Regions from separate parts of the Homo sapiens genome. Here region 1 is linked to region 2. Evidence: promoter capture Hi-C in 16 types of primary human blood cells and fetal thymus (Javierre and others, 2016). All regions are on one chromosome and are shown on one strand. The core of a region is centred on a gene start or on the middle of the fragment in contact, and the rest is flanking DNA. Distances in the headings are between cores, read along the strand shown.

Evidence for each region. Contacts are between HindIII fragments. The CHiCAGO score rates a contact against its expected background, and 5 or more counts as called.
Region 1: a contact is called between a fragment that was not itself captured here and the fragment with the promoter of EIF4EBP1 in region 2, in 2 of 17 cell types (erythroblasts and megakaryocytes). The highest score is 6.9, in erythroblasts.

The regions. Positions count from the first base shown.
Region 1 is chr8:38,170,122-38,174,468 of GRCh38, reverse strand. LSM1 (LSM1 homolog, mRNA degradation associated) reads left to right here. Exons shown (of 4, transcript NM_014462.3): 2 at 2,436-2,504. Among named protein-coding and RNA genes, the nearest start is that of LSM1, 4.2 kb to the left of the region's middle. The HindIII fragment of the contact is 671 bases long and covers 2,682-3,352 here.
Region 2 is chr8:38,027,677-38,031,930 of GRCh38, reverse strand. It overlaps EIF4EBP1 (eukaryotic translation initiation factor 4E binding protein 1), which reads right to left and starts at 1,397. Exons shown (of 3, transcript NM_004095.4): 1 at 1,213-1,397. The coding sequence starts at 1,357. RefSeq lists enhancers at 577-676, 1,306-1,600 and a silencer at 1,177-1,616. The HindIII fragment of the contact is 5,036 bases long and covers 1-2,230 here.

The DNA of each region.
Region 1 (4,347 bases), core at 1,768-4,267, 140 kb before region 2:
TTTGATATGCACCCTTTGCTCCCCAACCCTAACACACAGTTTCCTCCTTGTGTTTCTGTATTTTCACCCATCCTTTAATTTGAGTAGGAAGGATTCCTCCCTTTTTGTCTGTCTGTTGTTACTGTCTCCTCTCACTGCTTCTGGAACCTTTTTTCGTTGTTAGCCTTTTTCTTTTATATCCTCTGTCTCCCCAACCCCTGCGTTCTTCCCCTCATGTGTTACTGTCTATCCATCTCAAATATTTTCTCCGTTCTCTTCATATGCCCATCCCTTTTTTCATATCTTTATCCCCAAACCTCGAGTCATTTTCATTTTGTCTGTTTCTTGATCACCTTCAATAGACTACTTACATTACTCCTGCAATCTAATTTTTATCCTGAAATTACTCAAGCTGCATTCTTCAAAGTTATTCGTCTAAGGTCTTCTTCTGTGTTCTCTCCCCTTTGCAGCACTGTGATACTCTCCCCACCAGATTCTTTAATTCTCTTCTCTTGATTTCTCTAACAACTGGTACTTGGTGATTTTCTTACTTCTCTGGCTCTTACTGTTCTCCAAAATAGATGGTCACTTGGATTACATGTGGCCTACTTCTTTAAATCTTTAGTAGATCTCCTGTACTTTAGTTTTTTATATCACCTCTTTGTAGATTTATCCAAAATTGCTTTCTCTAATCTTGATGTCTTTGGTTTTCCAGTCTTACTGTTTCCAACTATCTGCGTGTGTTTCTATTAAGTGTCCTGATAGCACTTTAGAATCACAAAGAGCTAATAACCTTCACCCTGAGCTTGCTGCTTTTATTCCCAACTCTTGGTAAATAGTTTTGTGATGTCTCATAAAACTCCTACATCTTTACCTCACATCTTCAGCACCCCACCCTCTCACACATACCCACTTATACAAACTCAGTAAACAGACTCCATCACTTAATGTTTTCTTGTTCCCTATGAAGTCAAATCCAGATGCAGCCTGCGCCCAGTACTTTTCTGACTTTATCTACTGTTCTTTCCCTTCACACCCTCAGCTTTTAGCTAAACATGGATGTATAGCCCTTTTTTCCTCCTCTTTAATTTACAGATTTCCTTCTCCCCCCCCGCCCCCTTCCTATCACTCTTCTTGTGCCCTAAAATTATCTACCTTTTAAGGTCCAACTCTGATACCTCCTTCAGAAATACAGTTTCTCTCTCTGTAGTCTCATATAATTAAGATTTGCTTTCTGTGGTACTTATTTATAGCGCAAGGAAGAGTATAAATTCCTTCAGGGCAGAGTCACTGTGTTTTTCCTCTGTTCTGCATCTAGAAAGTACTTTAGGCATGGAATGAAAGAAATTTTGCTGGGTGCGCTAGTAACTGGCTTATTTTCATTCTTCAGTGTCAGCTCAAAGTCACCTCTTCAGAGAGGCTTTCCCTTGCCACCCTTCCTTCTGTAACCACTTCTCTCCCTTCATCATACTGCCTTGCTAGTTTATTATTCCATTGTCCTAATCACAATAGGTTATTTTCTTATTTATTTGTCCTCCTCCAACATGAATATAAATTCATAAGGTTGGTGACTTTCTAAGTCTCATTCTCTACTGTATGTCTAGACCCCAGAACAGCACATGCCCCCTCAGTAAACATTGAATTTCTGCTCTAGCTTATTATTAGTCTTCATTTTAAATGCCTGAAGCATTGTGTTTTTATTTAAAGCCTTCTATGGTTACAAACAAAATGTGAGATAGAAGCTCATCTTTTGAGGACAAAATAATTCTACAAATAAGATAATAGTCATCTAGATTAAATTTGTCAATTTACAGATATAAAAACTGACATGACATGAGATGGTTTAAGTGTCAAACATAAGGGTCTTTGGCTAGGCGCCATGGTTCACGCCTGTAATCCCAGCACTTTGGGAGGTGGAGGTGGATGGATCATCTGAAGTCAGGAGTTTGAGACCAGCCTAGCTAACATGGTGATACACCATCTCTACTAAAAATATGAAAATTAGCCAGGCATGGTGGCAAACTCCTGTAGTCCCAGCTACTAAGGAGGCCGATGCAGGAGGATCGCTTGAACCTGGGAGGCAGAGGTTGTAGTAAGCCGAGATTGTGCCACTGCACTGCAGCCTGGGTGACAGAGTGAGACTCTGTCTCAAAAAAAAAAAAAAAGAAAAAAGGAAAAAAAAAAAACCAACATAAGGGTCTAGAGCCAGCTAGTCAGGCTTCCTGGTGCCACGCCCTGTCCTTTTCCCACTCTGCCACACTGCTCTGATTCTTTTCACTACTGATGTTATCTAAATCCGCGTTGCTGTGCTGCTTTTTTCAGTTTTCCAATGAACTTGAACTTCACATTAAATGCATTGGCCGAGGAAGTGGTACAGCTTAAACTGTTAATTATTATCCTAAATACTCGCTGAACTTGTCAGTTTTCATTTAAAAGATTTTTTCCTCTCTCCCCAGAAAAGCACTTGGTTCTGCTTCGAGATGGAAGGACACTTATAGGCTTTTTAAGAAGCATTGATCAATTTGGTATGTATTAATTTATGGACATCTCTTATACTCTGGATAATAACAGCAGCCCATTGCATTTTTTGTTATTTAATATTGAAATTTATCTGCAACTTTTTCACGTGTGTGACCTAGTAGGACTGATTTTAGTGAGTACATCATTGTTTTCTATACATTCAGATTAGGTGGTTCAAAGCTTATATATATTTCCAAGCTCGTTTCTAAAACTGGCTTTCAGTAGAATCCCCAGTAGGGGGAGCCAAATGATAGAAATAAACTCAGTCCACCGAAGAGGCTTGTTTTGTTTTGTTTTGTTTTTTGTTTAGACGCGCTCTCGGTCACCCAGGCTGGAGTGCAGTGGCACAATCTTGGCTCACTGCAACCTCCGCCTCTTGGGTTCAAGTGATTCTTGTGCCTCAGCCTCCCAAGTAGCTGAGATTATAGGCTCCAGCCACCACCCCCAGCTAATTTTTGTATTTTTAGTAGAGACGGGGTTTCGCCATGTTGGCCAGGCTGGTTTCAAACTCCTGACCTTAGGTGATCCACCCACCCAGCTGAGCTGGGCAGTTGTTCTGCTCCTCATGGTTTTAGGACAGTCCCTTGGTGTCTAGAAGGTGAGTCAGCTGGTTTGAAGGAGCTTCACTCACATGTCTGGTGCATCAGTGGGGACAGCTGGAAGGCTGGTCTTAGCTCCCATAGTGCTGAGATTATAGGCGCGAGCCATTGTGCCCGGCCCAAGGCTGCTTATTTCTACATTGGCAGGGTAAAATGACTTCAAAGCAGTTCCGGAAGTGAAGGTAATCCCTCCCTAGCCAATGAAAATTGGGTAGAAGGCATTTCCTTTATTTTAAGGACCCCAACATTAAGCTTAATACTTTACATATAGGGATACATTGGAATAAGAGGCCTCTGTCTTTGTTTCGCATCCTGCATTTTTCTTAAGTTAAAAGATTATGTTTCCTTCTGTTTCAAGGAACTTCATGTTCATGCTAACATTTATTGGATATCTGCGAAATCACTGGATTTGAGCATGAGGAAGAAACGTAATTAAAACACTTAAAAGGATTATGGAAGATATGAACATAGATTTCTCCTTTACTTCAAATAGGACAAGTAGTACTAATTGAAAGAGGAAAAATAATTATTGTTAACAAATTGGAGTCCTGATTCTTAAGTCAGATTCATCAGAGTACTTTGAGGGAAGGGTAGTGGCTATTAAGTTGACTTTTAGATTACAAATATAGTTATCTGTCAAGGTGAAAAAATAGGTTTTTGCTGTATCATAACCCATGGATACCTGCGTTGGGTCAAATGAATCCTAATTACTAAAAGAAAGTTGAATCTTCAGCAGATCATCACATACACACCCACACAAAAAGAAAAGCTGTTTCTTTCCAGAAAACAAAAGTTTTGATCTCTGTGGTTGTTTAGGCCCAAGTTTTCCAAGTTCCTTATTCATTTATATTTTCCTATGGTTTTTTTTGGTATTAGCAATTAACTGATAAAGGAATTTATTTCTCTTATTTCTGCTGTCATTCATGTATTAGCCCAACATAATCCCAGACATCTCCTAACTGGTACGTCTTACTCAATGAAATAGGAGAAGATTATTTGAAATTTTAGCCTTCCCCAGAATTAGAAAGCTTGGGGGCCCGGCACTGTGGCTCACGCCTGTAATCCCAGCACTTTGGAAGGCCGAGGTGGGCGGATCACAAGGCCAGGAGTTCAAGACCAGCCTGGCCAATGTGGTGATCCCTGTCTCTGCTAAAAATACAGAATTAGCCGGGAGTGGTGGCAGGCACCTGTAGTCCCAGCTACTCCGGAATCTGAGGCAGGAGAATTGCTTGAACCAGTAGGCAGAGGT
Region 2 (4,254 bases), core at 148-2,647:
TAGAAAAGGAAGCATTTCTCCCTTCTCTGCCTGGTTGCTATTTCTTGTCCAATCTGGGAAAACGGTGTGACAATGGGCAACAGACACGTGTTCAAGCTCTGGGGCCTCAATGCCGGGCTCTGTAGAATAAGACGGCAGGGCTGGACAAGATCCCTAACCGTTCTAACAGTGTATGTTTTGGATCAAACAGCAGAGGACCTCGGATCTGGCCGCGCTCGCTGCTGGTGGGACAGCTGCCTGAGAAAATAAGCATGTGGCCCCCGCCCGCCACCTAGCCAAGCGCCAGGATCTGTCGCGTTTTCTAGTAGTATGGAAAGCAGCGTGGAGGAGAATGAAGGGAGAGGAGCAAAAAGGGGTGGGGGCAGTGCGACAATGAGAGGGGAGGAGAGAGCCACGAGGATTTATTTCATCATGCAAACAGGCGCGTAGGTTTCATCAGCGTCTGTGCGCTGGGGCTCCGGGGCTGGGAGGGAATGCCAGGTTCCTGAGGGCAGCCCGAGGCTGGCCCCCCCACCCGTGCCAGCTCAGCTTCCTCTTCCTCATCCTCTCCCAGGGAGGTCACACGGTGCCTCCTCCTCTCCCCGGACAGAAGAACGTGTTTTTCTGCACAGCCCTGGCCGTGGCGCCAGGGTCCCCCCCGCGGAGATCCCACTCGCGTAAATGGGGAACGTGCCACAGGTGCCCGGGAGGCGCTGCTGGAGCAGGCAAGCACCCCCAGATCCGAACCTCAGTCAGAGCGCGCGAGTCCAACACAAAACTCGGCGTGCTTCGGGAAGGAAAAAGGGCCCTGCAGGAATCGTTTATCCCAACAGATAATACCCATCCCATAAAAACACCAGGCCAGGCCTCTCCTGGATCGTGGGCCACCCTAACTCCGCCCTCTCCCGCTTCGGGAGCGCCCCCAACACCCACAAGGGGCAGCACAGCTCGGCATGTGGCTGTCCTGGAGGCGTGCGTGTTTGTTAGGTGTCAGCTGTCTGACACCTAACAGAAAGAGGAAACAAACGGGGCAGTTTGTAACTCGGGTCTGGAAGACGCACTCAGAGGGGAAGCGGGCGGCCACTTCCATGACCCTCGCTGTCTCTCCGATGCCCCTTTTCCGTTCTTTCCAATCACGGCGCCCTTGAGCCTGGACACCCGGTCCAATCCGCGATTCCCGATCCTCCCGCCCGCCCAGGAGCCGGCAAGCGGCGTCGCCAAGCCCGCGCCTACCTCCCGGGGTGGTGCTGAAGAGCGTGCCGCCGGGGGTCGTGCTGTAGTCCCCGGGCGGGAGCTGCACGCCGTCGCCGAGCACCACCCGGCGAGTGGCGGGGATGGCCCGGCTTGGGGTCTGGCTGCAGCTGCTGCCCCCGGACATGGTCTCCTGTGCGCTGCACCCGCGAACCTCTCGCTGCCCTCCCGCGCCTCCAGCCTCGCTCCGCCTCGCCCCGTGCCGCCCCGCCCCAGGACGCCCCTTCCGCCTCTCCCGCCCCACGCCCCTGGGATTTGTAGTCCGCGCCGCAGCCCCACCCAGCTCCAGGACGCTGCTTCCACGTGGGATCCCCCGCCGCCCCCCGACCCACTCCCGTCTGCTCACGGGCTCTTCCGCACGGGCGCTGGCGCCGCCCCGCAGCGACTGCCCCTCCGTCCGGGGTCCCTCCCCGCCACGCTGGCAGGGACGGATATGGGGATGGCGGGCGGGATAGCTCGCCTAAATTAATCCTTGGCTGGGTTGGGGGCGGCGACTCAGGACCGCGCGGAGATCCGAGCTGACCCGGCCCACTGCAGGAAGGCCCGGTTTCTGCATTAGGACATCAGGCCTGGTGTACCCTTCGGCACTCCCTGTTTCGTGCCTTAGTTCCTCAGATGAGAAAATGGGGATTGAGTAGTTATGCTCACCGCCCCCCGCCCCGCTTCAATTTCTTGACCTTGATGGGGGTGGGGGTGGAGGGGCTAACAATTCCGTTCCCGGCCTTTAGAGAGGGTGTGGGAGGAGGAGTGAACCAACCAGCGGCGTCCTGGGAGCTAAATTTAGAGCTGGGGGCGCAGAGGTGGGTGGTGGGGAAGGGCGTTGGAGAGGAGTAAGAGTGTCGAAGAGGTTTCCCGATAGCCCCTGAATTGAGTCCAACGTCCACCTGAGGTTTAGTAGGTACTCCTTGGATGGATGGATGGATGGATGGATGGATGGATGGATGGATGGATGTTCAAGGGGAGAGAGAAAAATGCAAGAAGGACCGAGGATGGAAAAGCTTGTTGGGTTTGAGAAGTTCTTAGCATTATGGGCACATATTGTGGGGAAGAGGGTGAAGAGGGGAGGGCAGTTTAAAAGGGAAATTGGGTGGTGCACCTGTAATCCCAGCTACTCAGGAAGCTGAGGCTGGAGGATGCTTGAGCCCAGGGGTTTGAGGCTCCAGTGAGCTGTGATCACACCACTGCACTCCACCCTTTGTGACAGAGACCCTATCTCTAAAAAAATATATAATAATTTTTTAAAAAGGAAATTGGGGTCAGGTCGTTGAGTTTTTCAAATTATGCCAAAGTGCTTGGACTTTGTCTTAGAAGGGCAGGAGATATCAGAGATCTTTTAAGCAGGGGGATGACATGATTTGAGTTGTTTTTTGGAAGGATAACTAGTAGCCAGTGGAGTTTCAGAATGGGCCAAGGAGGGCAAGGCCTGAGATAGGGAGACCTGTTGAGTTTGGTCTCACTTTTGAGGGAAACTTTAGGCCTACAGTGGCTAAGACAGTAGCCACCAGCTACAGGTGCACATTGAGCACTCCAAATGTGACCAGTCCAAACTGTCACAAGTTTAACATACACACCATATTTCAAAGACTTAGTGTGAAGAAAATCATGTAAAATACCTGAATAATTTGTTTCTATATTGATTGTATGTTGAACTGATAATATTTTGAGTATACTGGGTTAAGAAAAATACATTATAAAAATTAATTTTGGGCCAGGCGCAGTGGCTCACGCCTGTAATCCCAACACGTTGGGAGGCCGAGGCAGGCGGATCATGAGGTCAAGAGATCGAGACCATCCTGGACAACATGGTGAAACCCTGTCTCTACTAAAAATATAAAAAAAATTAGCTGGGCATGGTGGCGCATGCCTGTAGTCCCAGCTACTCGGGAGGCTGAGGCAGGAGAATTGCTTGAACCTGGGAGGCAGAGGTTGCAGTGAGCTGAAATCATGCCACTGCACTCCAGCCTGGCGTCAGAGCAAGACTCTGTCTCAAAAGAAAAAAAAATAAATTTCGGCTGGGTGCAGTGGCTCACGCCTGTAATCCCACCACTTTGGGAGGCCTAGGCGGGTGGATCATGAGGTCAGGAGTTCAAGACCAGCCTGGCCAAGATGGTGAAACCCTGTCTCTACTAAAAATACAAAAAAACAAAACAAACAAACAAACAAACAAAAACAACAGACCGGGCACAGTGGCGGGTGCCTGTAATCCCAGCTACTCGGGAGGCTGAGGTGGAGAATTGCTTGAACCTGGGAGGCAGAGGTTGTAGTGAGTAGAGATCTGCCACTGCACTCCAGCCTGGGTGACAGAGTGAGACTCCGTCTCAAAAAAAAAAAAAAAAAAAAATTAATTTCATCCAGGTGCTGTGGATCACACCTGTAATACCAGCACATTTGGAGACCGAGGTGAGCAGACTGCTTGGGCTCAGGAGTTTGAGACAAGCCTGGGCAACATGGTGAAACTCTGTCTCTACAAAAAAATTTAAAAATTAGCCCAGTGTTGTGGCTCACACCTGTGGTCCCAGCTACTTTCAAGGATGAGGTAGGAAGATGACCTGAGCCCCAGAGGTGGAGGTTGCCATGAGCCAAGATTGCACCACTGCACTCCAGCCAGGGCTCAAAAAATAAATAAATAATATAAGATAAAAATAGACCAGGCCTTGCTGGTTGCAGCGATGTGCACTTGTAATCCCAGCCCTAGCTGGGATTACAAGGCCAGAGGATTGCTTGAGGCCGGGAGTTCAGAGACCAGCCTGGGCAACATAGTAAGACCTTGTTTCAAAAAAGAGAGAGTTTCAGGCCGGGTGTGGTGGCTCACGCCTGTAATCCCAACACTTTGGTAGGCCGAGGGGGGCAGATCACGAGGTCAGGAGATTGAGACCATCCTGGCTAACACGGTGAAACCCCATCTCTACTAAAAATACGAAAAAAAAAAATTACCCGGGCATGATGGCAGACGCCTGTAGTCCCAGCTACTCGGGAGGCTAAGGCAGGATAATCGCTTCAAACTGGGAGGCAGAAGTTGCAGTG